3 separate regions of the Homo sapiens genome follow, and all the other regions are linked to region 1. Evidence: promoter capture Hi-C in 16 types of primary human blood cells and fetal thymus (Javierre and others, 2016). All regions are on one chromosome and are shown on one strand. Each heading gives the region's core, a stretch centred on a gene start or on the middle of the fragment in contact. The rest is flanking DNA. Distances are from core to core; before and after follow the strand shown.

Region 1 (2,927 bases), core at 323-2,822:
TAGTCCCAGCTAGTTGGGAGGCTGAGGCAGGAGGATGGCTTGAGCCTGGGAGACCAAGGTTTACAGTGAGCTATGATCATACCACTGCACTCCAGCCTGAGCAGAAGAATGAGATTCTGTCTCAAAACAAAACGAAAACAAAAACAAAGAAAACAAATCTAATCTAATACACTCTTGGGTATGCCTTTTTCAGAGACACGTTTCACAACCTGTGAGCCCACACTCTTGCCCAGGAACAGCTCTGAACAGAAAGAGAAACAATAAAAGCAAACAGACTAGTGACCTGACAACAACCACTCTGTCCTCTCCTCCTCATTCTTTTGGTTTCCCAGATAAGGAAAACCACAAGAACACAGTTGATCTATACATGCACATCATATGCAGATTTTGCAAGCAGTCTCCAGTTTAAAAATTGTTTTTAAAAGTGTTTATATGTGTATTTAGGGTTTGGGGCACGTTTTCTCTTTTAAAAATGCCACAAATAGGACGGGCGCGGTGGCTCACGCCTGTAATCCCAGCACTTTGGGAGGCCAAGGCGGGCGGATCACGAGGTCAGGAGATCGAGACAATCCTGGCTAACACGGTGAAACCCCGCCTCTACTGAAAATACAAAAAATTAGCCGGGCGTGGTGGCGGGCGCCTGTAGTCCCAGCTACTCGGGAGGCTGAGGCAGGAGAATCGCGTGAACCCGGGAGGCGGAGCTTGCAGTGAGCGGAGATAGCGACACTGCACTTCAGCCTGGGGGAAAGAGCAAGACTCCGTCTCAAAAAAAAAAAAAAAAAAAAAAAAAAAAAAAAAGCCACAAATAGAATGTAGGTTGCCGGGCAACTCTATAACATATCAGAAGTATAGTATTTGTTATCTCACTACATTTGGCCACAATTCTGATTAGTATCATAATTAGTATTAGATGGCACATCACCACCGTAACACCCACTGGCAGTTGGCTGAGGCCTAAAAGTGGCCAAGTCTATGAGGTCCTTCCCGAGCTCGGCAGCAGGCTGATAATGAAGAAAGTTGCTTGATGTGATTCTTTGCAGGTGGACTCTGTCAAGAAAAGCCCAAAATATTCGTTACCAGACACGCAACCAGGAGATGAACACAAAGCAAGGATGGGGGAAACAAAACAGAGGAGGTAGGGTTGCCAAGGTGTGCTGGGTGCAGACAACGGAGAGGAGGTGGGTGGGTGCGCCGTCCTATGGGGAAGAATGAAGGGGAGAGGGTGTACTGGGGGCACAGGGCTTTGAGAAACTGGGAGCAACAAAGACGTGAATGGACTTGGGTAGGTCTGTAAGGGGTTCTTAGAGGCTGTGAGTGGATGGGGGTACGGATAGTGAAAGAAGTGGGGAGCCCGGAGAAGTGGTCGGGATTGTAAGCAGAAAGTGGGGACCTCAGAACACCGAGCTCAGGTTGGAATGATCTAAGGACACAAAAGCATGGGGCCTCGGGGCTGGGGCGGTGCGACTACCGGAGGCGCAAGTTGCGCACGGGGTCCCGGGAGCGATACACTGCCTCCCCGGTGTCAGTGCTCCAGACGGTCTCCGCCATGACAGCTGCGACGCGCCGCGACTGCGCCGGAAAGCGCGCCGCTCTGTTTTCCTGGCAACGGAGACGCTGGATCGGGAGGCGACGGAGGTGCTGCGCGCGCAACCCGCCGTTCCCGTCACGGCGCCACGGTCGCAGTTGGCCACACAGTGCAAGTGCAGCCCAAGCCGAACGCCCAAGAGGGCTCCGGGGTCCTACCGATCACCGCTTACCATGTATGCGATAAAAGCTCACCGAAAGCGGGACCTCGTGCGCTGTGCAAATGAGGAAACTGGCACAGCCATCAGCCCACTTCATATAGACAGATAGATGCAGAAATGATGACGGGGACCAGGTGGCCTGAGTCTTCGCCCTCTACCTTTTCCACCATGCCACACTGCCTTCCACCCAACGCGTGAAAACTTTGGCCTGAAAATCGGGTGATGTGACTGTAAGAAATGCACCCATTATTCCCAAAGGAGTCAGGGAAGGTGATGGCCCTTAGCCAGACAAGAAAATATATTCTTGGAAGACAAAAAAAGTGTCAGAAGATTTATTAGTCTTTGTGTTGATATTCACTGAGCAAAGAAAGAAAAAACAAGGAAGTCAACAGTAAGGAAGGAAACGATGTTATTATTGAACTGATTCTTACCTTGTGTATGTTAGTTTTGGATCATTAAGCCACTTTGTTACTGCACTGGCTTCCTGAAAAGCCAAAAAAGTGACATTCACAAGTCATGCTTCGTTGTACTAGCAAAGGAAGGACATGCTGTAACCTCACGTCTGGCGTCCCGGCACTTTGGGAATGTCAACATTTATCAGCCTTGTTCACATCTAGTCCTCCTCCAACAAAGTAAGCAATTGTCCCCTGAACTCGGGAATCTCATGCCAGTTTGATGATTTGGCATTGGAAGCTCTGGGTGCCATAGCCACTAGTTGTGTAACACCGACTCACCATAAATAGCACCATTTATTTAGGATCTAGTGCAGCTTGAGCACTTTTGTTTGCATTGTCCCAAATCCTTGTAGAAGCCTCTCAAAAAGGTACTTTTATTCACTTTAAAAATGAAGTTCGTGAAGGCCAGGGTTTAAAGGACTTGCTAGCTTGCAAGTGGTAAAAGTACTGGGATTCTAGCCCAAGTTCTTCTGTCTTTTGAAGCCTAACCACCTTCCAGTTTGCCTCACAGCCTCTCACCTACCAATTTATTCCATAAACGCACACATTTCCAACCTGGGAAATAATAATTTTTTTTTTTTTTTTTTTGAGACGGAGTCTCGCTCTGTCGCCCAGGCTGGAGTGCAGTGGCGGGATCTCGGCTCACTGCAAGCTCCGCCTCCCGGGTTCACGCCATTCTCCTGCCTCAGCCTCCCAAGTAGCCGGGACTACAGGCGCCCGCCACTAC
Region 2 (2,816 bases), core at 309-2,808, 220 kb after region 1:
TTTTCTAACACCAAAAGCTTTCTTTCTAACCATATGCTGTACTGTTTTTAATGAGCAGTATATTAATCTCACACATTGACTTTGGTTAAGGTCTCTTAATGCCATGGGACCTTACATATAGCCATGTTTTCATAGACCAACTGCTAGGCCAAGGTCTATCAGAGCAGAATCATTTGCAACTTCATGAATTGTATTTCTGCCTACACTTTAATTAAAAAACTTTTTTTTTTTTTAGCAGAGAGGTTCTAGCTTAATCATAACTCATTTTCCTCTTGTCCATAATAAAATGAAAATGTGATTAGGTGTCATAATGATGCCAAGATTTCACAACTCTTATGTTTCACAGCAGGAAGCCAACATCAATTAAGACTCATCTATTAACTGCACTGACCAAAGGATAAGGCTTTACTTAGAAAAAAAAAACAACAGGAAGAGTTAATAAAGATAATTACTGTGCTAATTATTTTATCAGTTACACTTATAACCATAACATGTAGTGAAAGAGAGGAAATTATTTTTTTAACAGCAGGCACCAGAGTTCCTCTCAGGGAGGTAATTGTCTTTGTTGAGGAATATGTCTCGATAGATTGTTCTGGTTGGGAAAAATGACGCCTTAAAAACATCAAAAAATAGAAGAGATACCTAACCTTCTTTGCCTAAGTAAAACACAGGAATTCAGCACCTGGGGAAAGAGCAGAAAAAAAAAACCAACCATAACAACAACAACAACAGAAAGCAGAGAAACGAAGGTCTGGTGCTAGTACAAGGAAAGAAAGCAACATGGCAGAGGACCATATTGACTAGTGACAAGGAAAGATGCCGTAAAGTGACTGGGGGCCTTTTAATTCCATTTTTGCGGTATTCTAAATATTTCTGTCGGTATTTCTGCCTCCCGACATCTTCATAAAAGTGTGCTACACATACACATGCCTAGCATAATGCTTAAAGGGAGGAAGAGGTCAAAGAAAGTGGGCCAAGTTCTGCATCTGGTATAGCATGGAACAGACAGATAAGAACAGCCCTGGGAGGTCAGATATGGACAAGTCTGGAATTACATTTAAGCAGAAACTCAAAAATAAAAGCTACTGTGAACCCTAGAAAGTCTCAGAAATCTTAGAAAGGCATTCTTGGTATAGGGTAAGTTTATCTTGAGTCAATCATATCTAAACCTCAAAAGTCAGTTTACTATCTGGGATATAAATATTTTTTAAAAACACTCTGAAATTGTTCATTTCTATTACTTTAAGGCTTTTATATTCCTGCTATAGGAACACTTCAAGTATTTAAACTACTTTTAGTATTTTTAGATTTTTTAAAATTTGAAAAACATAGAAGAATACAGATGGTGAAAATTTCCCGTAATCCTATTATATATACATATACAAATTGAGAAGTTAAGCATACCCCTGCACCCATACATTCTATCTTCTGAGAGATAACTAGTGTTATATTTATCAGCTATATCGTATATCTCCAGACTTTTTTCTATAATTTTACAGCATATACTTTCTTTTCTTTCTTTCTAGAAAGGGGGTTGTGCTAGACATATTGTGTTGCAACTTACCCATTTGCTGAACACATTATGAACACTTACTGTCTTTCCAGGTCACAACACATCAAGCTACTTCAGTTTCTTAAATGGTTGCACAGTATTTTATTATGTAGATGTCATAATGTATCTGGTTCCCCACTGTCAGGCATTTATGCTTTTCTCAAATTTTTGCTATTATAAATAACACTATAGCAAACTTATTTTGAGTACCTTTGGGAATATACACATTTCTACAGGAGAGATTCCCAGGAGTAGAGTTCCTGAGTCAAAACTCATAAGCATTTTAGTTATCTATAAATAATGCCAATTGTCCTTTATAGGGCTATACGAATTTACATTCCAATTACAGCATAGAGAAGGTTCCTTTTCTCTATACCTTTATCAAAGCTGGATATTATCAACAGTTAAAGTTTTGCCAATCAAATTGCCAAAAAAAAAAATAATTGGTTGATTTTGGTCAGTGACAGACCATATAGATGATGATGATTCTGTAAGATTGTACTCTATTTTTACTGTACCATTTCTATGCTTAGCTATGTTTAGATACACAAATACCACTGTATTACAATTGCTTACAATATTCAATACAGTAACATGCTGTAAGGGTTTGTAGCCTAGAAGCAATAGGCTATACTATACAGCCTAGGTATGTAGTAGGCAACATCATCTAGGTTTGTGTAAGTACAATTCACAATGTTTATAAAACAATAACATTAACTAATGACATAGTTCTCAGAATACATTCCTGTCATTAAGGGATACATGATTATATGTGCTACTGGCTTTGCAGTCAGGCAGCACATGGTTAGGACACAGCAAGCTAGAATGTTGGTGATCTTTGTTATCCATGCCAACATATTTGGTAAAATCATTACCTGTGACACCATGGAAGTCAGACCACACATGCCAAGTGAACATACAACCATGGGGGAAAAGATTGACAAAAATCACAAGGTGTTGACTATTTCTTGACACATTCAGCAAAGCCCTAAAAGAAGAGATAAACTCAGGCTAGAGGTACCTAGTGTGCAAGCAGAGATGGAAGGGAATATTTGACTGCCTGTGGTTGACAACTTATTGACTAGAGTTCAGTAACTGGGTCATGAATCCAACTGCTTCAATACCCCAACCTGAAGTTGCACTAAGAAGTGCCTTAAGGCCAGGCATGGTGGCTGACACCTGTAATCCCAGCACTTTGGGAGGCTAAGTTGGGAGGATTGCTTGAGACCAGGAGTTGGAGATCAGCCTGGGCAACACAGTGAGA
Region 3 (3,009 bases), core at 258-2,757, 240 kb after region 1:
ATTTTTGGCAACATAGGTGAACCTGGAGAACATTATGTTAAGTGAAATAAGCCAGGCACAGAAAGACAAATACTACATGATCTTACTCATATATGGAAGCTAAAAAAGTTAATTTCATAGAAGAAAGTAGAATAGTAAATACCAGAGGCTGGGGAAAGTAGGAAAGTGGGGATATTGGGAGAAGTTGGTCAAAAGTTGTAGTTAGATAGGAAGAATAAGCTTTGGTATTCTATTACACAGTAGCATAATTGTAGCAAATAACAATGTAGTGTATATTTCAAGACAGCTAGAAGAAAAGGTTTAGAGTGTTATCACCACAAAGAAATGATAAATGTTTAGAGTGATGGATATGGTAATTATCTCAATTTGATCATTACACTACATATACATGTGTCAAAAAATCACATTGTACCTCATAAATATGTACAATTATATTTAAATTATAAATTAAAAATAAAAATGGTTAAAATGATAAATTTTATGTTACATGTTCTTCAACACAATAAAAAATTAAAAGGAAAGAATATGTGCTCTACAGGCAGACAACTTAGGGTAGGATATTAGCAATATTAGTTTATATGTGACTGGCCATGCATGGTGGCTCATGCTCATAATCCCAGCACTTTGAGAGGTCAAGGCAGGAGGACTGCTTGAGCCTAGGAGTGCAAGACCAGCCTGGGCAACATAGTGAGACCCCATCTCTATAAAAAATGAAAAAAGGCAGCTGGGTGCAGTGGCTCATGCCTGCAATCCCAGCACTGTGGGAGGCCGAGGCAGGCAGATCACCTGAGGTCAGGAGTTCAAGACCAGCCTGGCCAACATGGCGGAAACCTTGCCTCTGCTAAAAATACAAAAATTAGCTAGTCGTGGTGGAGTGTGCCTGTAATCCCAGCTACTCAGGAGGCTGAGGCAGGAGAATCACTTAAACCTGGGAGGTGGAAGTTGCAGTGAGCCAAGATCACGCCATTGCACTACAGCCCGGGCAACAGAGCAAGACTCTGTCTCAGAAAAAAAAAATAATAATAATAATAAAGAAAAGGAAAAGGAAAGAAAAGAAAAAAGGGCCAGGCATGGTGGCTCATGCCTGTAATCCCAGCACTTTAGGAGGCCGAGGTGGGTGGATCACTTGAGGCCAGGAGTTCAAGACCAGCCTGGCCAACATGGTGAAACCCCATCTCTACTAAAAATACAAAAATTAGCCGGGTGTGGTGCCACGCACCTGTAGTCCCAGCTACTCGGGAGGCTGAGCCATGAGAATTGCTGGAATCTATGAGGTGGAGGCTGCAGTGAGCCAAGATGCGCCACTGCATTCTAGCCCGGGCAACAGAGAAAGACTCTGTCTCTAAAAAATGAAAAAATAAAACAAATTTATATGTGACTTTGAACAAGTTACTTACTCTAAGCCTAAATTTCCTGATGTTTAAAATGACAATGCCACTTCCAACAGATTTGTCCTATGGCACAAAAATGGATACGGTAAATGTTAGTTCCTGCCTTTCTCTCATCTAAATTGCCTTCAAGGCTCATGCCATTGTGTTAAACACCTTCAGTGGTAAGAAATCTTTAGTCTTTAATTATGGATTGGAAAATATAATCAACTAAAAGTGTGCAAGCTAAATTTAGTGAATAAATGATAGACAGTTTTTAGCCTAAAAGACATTTTGCAGAAAGAACCCTATGAGTCTGAGCTACACCATGATCATATCACTATTAATTTACTTTTTGGAAAAATTCTCACAGAAGTTCTCAACATTTTTCAAATTATTGTAGGTTAAAATGATGGTCTGTCATTTTAACCTACACTGTCATTCTGCCTGCACTGCATGCCCCTGACATGAACATAATTCTAGAATATTAAAATTGTCCACTGCAGACTTTGGTAACTTGATTTTTGGATGATATGAGACACATGTTTTATTAGATGTTACTATTTCTTCAAAAAATATGATTTTGTCTTATTAGAATCAACTGTATGTGCCTAAAACAATCACTTATTCTGGGTTCTTACAAACCACAAGAATAACAAACCATTCATTGGTATAGGGTCATACTTTATAGTATCTTTAAAATGCGCTCAGGATAATATCCTAAATTTCCATCTGATTTTCTCTTGTCACAATATAAATGCATGCCCTCTTGTCCTAGAGTCTGTTAATAACAGAGTAAGTACAACTACAATTTCGAAGTCTGGCATCTGAGGATACTTATTAAATCATCCTTCATCCTTGCCTTCTCCAAGTTAAATAATCTAAATTCCTTTGCTTATTCTTAATATGTTCTATATTTTCAAAGCCCAAATCATTATATGCAATATTAAGAAAATAACTATTACATACTTCACAACAATAATTAAGAACAAATATAGAGTTAAAATTACAGCTATGTAAAAACAGCAATGTGACAGGTCTAATACAATTATGAATAATAAATGGAGACCCAGAAAAAATGTCATTCATATATTAATTCTACAGCGTGATTCTACTTCTGGCATTCTAGAGCACAATAATCCTTACCAGGGGACTTTCCTTGTTGTGAGTTGCTTCTGTGCTCTCTGTATCTGGCTGGAGTGGCTAAACCTGTGTCTTCACTAGGCTTGCTAGCAGGCCCCATTTCTGAAATGAGGAATCCCATCTGTTCTGACGGCAAGATATTCTCACGTGAACTGGTCTGGCATTTTATGTTGGCATCCACCTAAAATATTAAACCCATTCATTATTTGAGATTTCCTCCAAATATCTGCTAAAAGTTAAGATATTTTATCAGAGGAGTTCTATTATGGGAACATGATCCAACAAACAAGCTTATAAGGCTTTTCATTCTTATTATTGATACTATACCTTTCTCCCTACACAAACTATTAAAATGTATATGGAGCTAAAACATTTACTTATGATCAGAGGAATATCTACCATGAAGCTTGTTGATTTTTTTTTAACTTACAAAAGTACAGGTTTTTTTTTTTGTTTTAAGGCAGGGTCTCACATTGTTGTCCAGGCGGGAGTACAGTGG

The links. Contacts are between HindIII fragments. The CHiCAGO score rates a contact against its expected background, and 5 or more counts as called.
Region 2: a contact is called between a fragment that was not itself captured here and the fragment with the promoter of MKS1 in region 1, in 2 of 17 cell types (M2 macrophages and M1 macrophages). The highest score is 8.3, in M2 macrophages.
Region 3: a contact is called between a fragment that was not itself captured here and the fragment with the promoter of MKS1 in region 1, in 1 of 17 cell types (M2 macrophages). The highest score is 7.2, in M2 macrophages.

The regions. Positions count from the first base shown.
Region 1 is chr17:58,217,683-58,220,609 of GRCh38, forward strand. MKS1 (MKS transition zone complex subunit 1) reads right to left here and starts at 1,573. Exons shown (of 18, transcript NM_017777.4): 1 at 1,469-1,573; 2 at 938-1,047. The coding sequence starts at 1,548. LOC105371841 (a long non-coding RNA gene) reads left to right here and starts at 1,632. Exons shown (of 2, transcript XR_934884.4): 1 at 1,632-2,377. RefSeq lists an enhancer at 1,401-1,680. The HindIII fragment of the contact is 11,285 bases long and covers 1-2,927 here.
Region 2 is chr17:58,436,126-58,438,941 of GRCh38, forward strand. All of the region lies in intron 5 of HSF5 (heat shock transcription factor 5), which reads right to left. Among named protein-coding and RNA genes, the nearest start is that of RNF43, 20 kb to the left of the region's middle. The HindIII fragment of the contact is 3,086 bases long and covers 16-2,816 here.
Region 3 is chr17:58,456,255-58,459,263 of GRCh38, forward strand. It overlaps HSF5 (heat shock transcription factor 5), which reads right to left. Exons shown (of 6, transcript NM_001080439.3): 5 at 2,514-2,691. Among named protein-coding and RNA genes, the nearest start is that of HSF5, 31 kb to the right of the region's middle. The HindIII fragment of the contact is 2,581 bases long and covers 218-2,798 here.